2 separate regions of the Homo sapiens genome follow, and region 1 is linked to region 2. Evidence: promoter capture Hi-C in 16 types of primary human blood cells and fetal thymus (Javierre and others, 2016). All regions are on one chromosome and are shown on one strand. Each heading gives the region's core, a stretch centred on a gene start or on the middle of the fragment in contact. The rest is flanking DNA. Distances are from core to core; before and after follow the strand shown.

Region 1 (2,977 bases), core at 26-2,525, 290 kb after region 2:
TGCAAATAGATTAAAAGCACAAGGACAGAAAAAGATATACCATGCCAATACTAATCAAATGAAAGCTGGAATGGCTATTTCAATCAAAATAGATTTCAGAGCAAAGAATATTATGAAATGATTTTATTTATCCCTAGTAATGATAAAGGAATTAATTCATTAAAGGGATGTAACAATCCTAAACATTTATGTACCTAATAAGAGTTTCAAAATACATAAAGCAAAAAGTTACAGAACTATAAAGGAAATAGACAAGTATCCAAAATTACAGTTGGAGACGTCAACATACCTCTTAATAACTGACAGATCAAATAGACAAAAAAAAAAAAACCAATAAGAATATAGAAGACTTGAACAACACTATCAATCAACTTCATCTAATTGACATTTACAGAACACTCGACCCAACAACAGAAAGGCTTATGTATATTCTTGAAGCTTTCAAGTACACACAGAACCTCACCAAGATAGAATATTCTGCACCATGAAAAAGGTCTCAAAAACTTAGTAGGATTCAGGTCATAGAAAGCATATTTTCTGACCATACTGGAATTGAAATAGAAATCAGTAACAGAAAGACATCTGGAAAATCCCCAAATATTTAGGAACTAAATAACATACCTCTAAGTAGTCCATGAATGGGCTATTAAATGGCACATCTCAATAAATCAAAGGGATATTAGTATTTTGAAATGAATGAAAATAAAAATAATCCATCAAAATCTTTGGGATGCAGCTAAAGCAGTACTTAAGGGGAAATTTATAGCACTAAACCCCTATATGAGAAAACAGGAAAGGTCTCAAATCAATGATTGTAGCTTCTCACCTTAAGAAACTAGAAAAAGAGCAAGTCAAATCTGAAGCAAGCAAAATCCAATGAAAATAGAAAAACAGAGAAAAATAAATTCACCAAAAGCTAATTACTTATTAAAAAGAGCAATAAAATTTATAAACCTCTAGCCAAGCTGATCAGGAAAAAAAAGAAGATACAAATGACCAATATCAGGAATGAGAAGGAAAACATCATTACAAATTGTAGAGATCTTAAAGGAATAATAGAATACCATAATTAACTTTATGCCAATAAATCCAACAACTTAGATGAAACAAATTCCTTGAAAGATACAAACTACTAAAGCTCATTTAAAAAAAAAAAAGGAAAATCTGGATTTCCCTATATCTATTAAAGAAATCAGTTATTTAAAATCTTCCTACAGAGAAAACCCTGGGCCTAGAAGGCTTCACTAGAAGGCTTAAATTCTATAAACATTTAAGGAAGATACAATACCAATGCGACACTCACTCTGTTTTAAAAATTGAAGAAAGGGCCAGGTGTATTGGATGAATCCAAGCACTATGGAAGGCTGAGGCAGGTGGATTACTTGCAATCAGAAGTTGGAGACCAGCCTGGCCAACACAGTGAAACTCCCTCTCTACTAAAAAATACAAAAATTAGCTGGGCATGGTGGCACACACCTGTAGTCCCAGCTACTCGGGAGGCTGAGGCATGAGAATCACTTGAACCTGAGAGACGGACATTGCAGTGAGCTGAGATCGCCACCACTGCACTCCAGTCTGGGCAGAGCGAGACTCCATCTTAAGAAAAAAAAAAAATTGAAGAGAAGATAGGTGTGGTGGCTCACACCTGTAATCCCAGCACTTTGGGAGGCTAAGGCAGGCGGATCGCTTGAGGTCGGGAGTTGAGACTAGCCTGGCAACATGGTGAAACCTCAAGTCTACAAAAAATACAAAATAATTAGCTGGCTGTGGTGACGTGTCTGCAATCCTAAATACTCAGGAACTCGGCTGAGGTGGGAGGATGGCTTGAGCCCAGGAGGCAGAGGTTGCAGTGAGCCGAGATCATGCCACTGCACTCCAGCCTGGATGACAAGGCCAGATCCTGTCTCTCAAAAAAAAAAAAAAAATTGAAGAGGGGGAAACACTTTCCAACTTATTCTACAAGGCCAGTATTGCCCTGACAGCAAAACCACAGACATTACAAGAAAAGAAAAATACAGACCAATATTATTCTTGGGCATTGATGTAAAAATTTTAAACACAATTTTAGTAAACTGAATATGTGAAAAGGATAATGAATACATCAGAACAAAGTAAGCTTTATCCTAGAGATGCAAGGTTGGTTTAATATGTGAAAGTCAATATAATTACCATATATCAAACTAAAAAACAAAAAACCACACAATAACCTCAGTAAATGCAGAATTTGACAAAAGCATTTGACAAAATAAAATAACTATTCCTAATTCTTGCCTAATTCCACAAGTATATATTTTTTTGAGATGGAGTCTTGCTCTGTCGCCCAGGCTGGAGTGCAGTGGCGCAATCTCGGCTCACTGCAACCTCCGCCTCCCGGGTTCGAGCGATTCTCCTGCCTCAGCCTCCTGAGTAGTTGGGACTACAAGCGCCTGCCACCATGCCCAGCTAATTCTTTGTATTTTTAGCTAAGACAGGGTTTCACCATGTTGGCCAGGCTGGTCTTGAACTCCTGACCTCAGGTAATCCGCCTGCCTCGGCCTCCCAAAGTGCTGGGATTACACAAGTATATTTTTTAAAGGCACGGTTCCTCTCCTGAAATTTGGCTTCTATTCTATCATTCCACTAAACCTGCCTTTACTATATTCACCAGCGTCTATTTCAAAGATGCAATATAGCATGGCTATTAGGAGAATGGATTCTGAAGCTTGACTACTTGGGTTCAATTCCCACTCTACTCATTATCAGGTATGTGATTTTCACCAGTTTTAACTTCTCCATGCCTCATTTTTCCTATCTGCAAAATGGGGATAATAAAAAGACTTCCCTTATAGGGCCCTATGAAGATTTAAATTGGTTCATACACATTTAAAGCACCTAAAACTTAAAACAGTGCCTGGTATATGGTAAAAAACTATAGAAGGAAGTGCCAGCTATAATTACCACCTCTGGAAAATACCTAGTTCTTAATCTCTGTAGTTCT
Region 2 (3,337 bases), core at 162-2,661:
GGACAAATTGGAAGAGGCTTTTTAACATTATAATGGAATTTTTCACTTTTCAAAATCAATTTCCAAAGGGAACCTATAGGTTGAACAGTAAGATTTATCAACAAATCAGGGGTTTTGATTTTAAAAGGTTTTCAATCTGGCCAATTCTTCAGATTATCTCAAGAGGGAGCCTTCTTATGCCTCTTCTTCCTTCATAACACTTCTCTGGCTCGCATGTCCTGTTTGCAAAGATTTAAGCCCACTCTTAGGCATAAAATGCTCTTAACTGACATGACCCCTGACTAACTTGCCTAATATTTTGCCATGTACCCTCCATGCACTTTAAGCTCCCCAAACTATTACTTACTTGACACCTTCTGCGCTTTTGCTTGTTCTCTGCGGCTAGACCATCTTCCCTACCTTCTCTGTTGAACTCCTAGCCATTCATCAACACTCAGCTCACATAGCACACTTTCAGATGAGATTCAAGCATTATCTCTCTGGCTACATTTGGCCCTTGTAGATATTTCTATTATTGCCTGTATTTTGTTGAAGCATTCATGTCTTTTATGTACTACATAGTACATAATATATCTACATTACAAAGCATTTTTATGATTCATGTTTTGGGGCATCCAGCGGTTAAAATAGGGCAAGGGTTATGTGGTCTTGGCCAGGTCCCTTTTCCTTTCTGAGCTTCAGGTTCCTCAGGTATAAAATGGGTACTATGGCTCCGTGAAGATGAGACAGAATATATGTAAAGCCCTTACACAGTGCTCAATTCATGAAAATCATCGCTGTTTACATTGTTTAGGGCCCTCAAGAGGCGCTCTTGTCAGCGGGGTGGAGGAAATGCCTCTTTAAAATGACGTCATTATAGGAGACTTAAAAACCACTGCACGTCTGTACAAGTGGACAGAATCACACAGCTACCTAAAGTGGGTTCACCTGTCATACAGTTTAGAGGTTCCACTTACAACAGGTTTCCATCAGTAGCCAAAGCAACAGAAATTTTAGCTTAACGGCTGAGGGCTTCCGGGATTACCGCAGGGCGGGCGGGAAGCGCCTTTCCGCTCCGGAGGGAAGGCCGCGTCCCCAAGGGACTGCCTAAGTGGGCTGGATCCCTATGGCCTGCGGCAGACACCACCACGTAGGCGGTCCAGGGGTCCCTCTCTCGGTGACTGGTGACCAGGAGGCCGCAATCTCTTCACATAAAAGGTCTACGGGTTTCCGCTCGGCCCTCACAGCGGCAGCGGATCGAACCAGGAAAGCAATTCCCGCTCGGCTCCCCTCGGGTCCCAGGCCCAGGAAGGCCGGGCCGTGGGGTCTCCCCGGGCTCCACGCAGGGGCGGTGGGGCGGGGCGCAGTGACGCAAAGAGGAGTGACGCGACGACGCAGCGCGACGCGGTGACGCACGCCCCTTTGTTGGCTCAGTAGCGATAGCAGCGGCCGTGGAGGTGGCGTTGGGGACTGTTTTCTCTCGGAGGCCGGAGCGGAGCCGCGTCTGACTGAGGCGGGCAGCAAGCGGCCCCCTCGCTCCCTCCCTCCCTCCTCCGCGCCCTCCCCGCCGCCACCAGCCGTCAAACGCCAACCGCCGCTCCTGGGGAGGAGCCGCGGCTCGCGGGGCCGGAGCCAGGCCTGCGTCCGGACATCAGCCGGAGCCGGAGCGAGAGCCGGGGCCTCGGCGTCCCCGCCCTCTCCCCGCCTCGGCCAGCGTCCGCCGGGCCCCCGCGCGTCGCGCCATGGACTCGGACGAGGGCTACAACTACGAGTTCGACGAGGACGAGGAGTGCAGTGAGGAGGACAGCGGCGCCGAGGAGGAGGAGGACGAAGACGACGACGAGCCGGACGATGATACCCTGGATCTGGGCGAGGTGGAGCTGGTGGAGCCCGGGCTGGGCGTCGGCGGGGAGCGGGACGGACTGCTGTGCGGGGAGACGGGCGGTGGCGGCGGCAGCGCTCTGGGGCCCGGCGGTGGCGGCGGCGGCGGCGGCGGCGGTGGTGGTGGCGGGCCGGGGCATGAGCAGGAGGAGGATTACCGCTACGAGGTGCTCACGGCCGAGCAGATTCTACAACACATGGTGGAATGTATCCGGGAGGTCAACGAGGTCATCCAGGTGAGGGTGGCCGCCGCGCCAGCTGGACCGGGCCCGACGGGGGAGCGGATTCAGGCGGCACGCGCGGTCCCGAGGGACAGGCCTGGGCCTGGTGCGCAGCCTAGCCCGGTGCCTCCCGGCCTTGTCTTCTCCGCTGCCTCTGCTGGGGATAGAGGGTGTCGAAAGCAGAGGTTCGCCGATTAGCCGGGTGTGGGGAGGTGCGCTGGGGGCGGTGCTTCCCAAGTCCTGCTATGGCGGAGGCCTTCGGTCGCCTAAGCCTTCTCTTGCGGGCAATTTCTGCCAGTCCCTGGGCCGGGTGTCCTTTCTCTGGCCGGGCGATCGCCTACTGGGGCGGGGCGGAGGAGGTGGGGTGGAGAAGAGGAGTCAGGAAGAATTGGGCCCTGACGGGACTTACCCCGGCCGTAGCCTCATTTGAGCACTTTTGGAAGGGATTAGAGTAGGCCTAAGAGCAGCTTGGTGTACAGTTGCCCCAAGTGGGCACCAGTTAATAAAGAAATGGATCTTGGCAGTCTCAAGTGCCTACTTAAAGGTGGGGGAAGGGAAGTATTTCTCGGAAGAGGTGCTGATGGGCCTTCTTTTCAGATGGTGAGGCTTCTGCTTACATCTTTTTTATGTCTTTGCTGTTTGGGACCTAATTGCTACTTTTTCTAGTCGTAGCAGATGACTTGCTTGAAGCTGTTGGAATAGTTACTGCATATTGCATACCCTTCCTTGTAGCTAAAACAACAACAAAACGCAGTGTTGTCTAATATTGGACAAGACTCTATTGTGAGTTAGAAAGCAGAGGTTTTCTGCTTGTGAACTCCTTTCTCTGATATTTTCTATTTTGTGGTAAGTTAGGCTTGGTGTAAGTTGATAACCACATCTCATTTAACCATGTGCGTCAGATTTTGCATTTTTGAGCTTTAGAAACTCAAAAGTTTTCATTTGGGGAAAAAAAAAACCTCAGTTCTCCTGAGGAGTCAGGGATATGGCTGAAGAATAAAAATGAAGCTTGATTCAGTGCAATTTTTAGAAAACCTGGAAGGAAACATATATGAGCAGCAAGTTACTATTGCCTCTTTTATCAGTATTATTTCTTTTTTGTTTAACTTAAATTGGTTGGCTAAATATTCATTGACAAATTAGAAGTATGTCACTGTCAACTCGTTGACTTTCTATTATTAACTGATTTTTATAGTATTATAAGTAACAGTTTTAAAAATTGAAGCATCTATTCAGGCACTGTTTCAATACAGTGT

The links. Contacts are between HindIII fragments. The CHiCAGO score rates a contact against its expected background, and 5 or more counts as called.
Region 1: a fragment that was not itself captured here is called in contact with the fragment with the promoter of ARIH1 in region 2 in 1 of 17 cell types (fetal thymus); the score reaches 7.3 in fetal thymus.

What each region holds. Positions count from the first base shown.
Region 1 is chr15:72,767,067-72,770,043 of GRCh38, forward strand. The region is part of intron 3 of ADPGK (ADP dependent glucokinase); the gene reads right to left. Among named protein-coding and RNA genes, the nearest start is that of ADPGK-AS1, 14 kb to the right of the region's middle. The HindIII fragment of the contact is 1,678 bases long and covers 437-2,114 here.
Region 2 is chr15:72,472,919-72,476,255 of GRCh38, forward strand. It overlaps ARIH1 (ariadne RBR E3 ubiquitin protein ligase 1), which reads left to right and starts at 1,412. Exons shown (of 14, transcript NM_005744.5): 1 at 1,412-2,096. The coding sequence starts at 1,722. It overlaps TMEM202-AS1 (TMEM202 antisense RNA 1), which reads right to left and starts at 1,321. Exons shown (of 4, transcript NR_135678.1): 1 at 957-1,321. RefSeq lists enhancers at 776-875, 2,326-2,535 and silencers at 1,116-1,455, 1,307-1,503, 1,546-1,775. The HindIII fragment of the contact is 10,721 bases long and covers 1-3,087 here.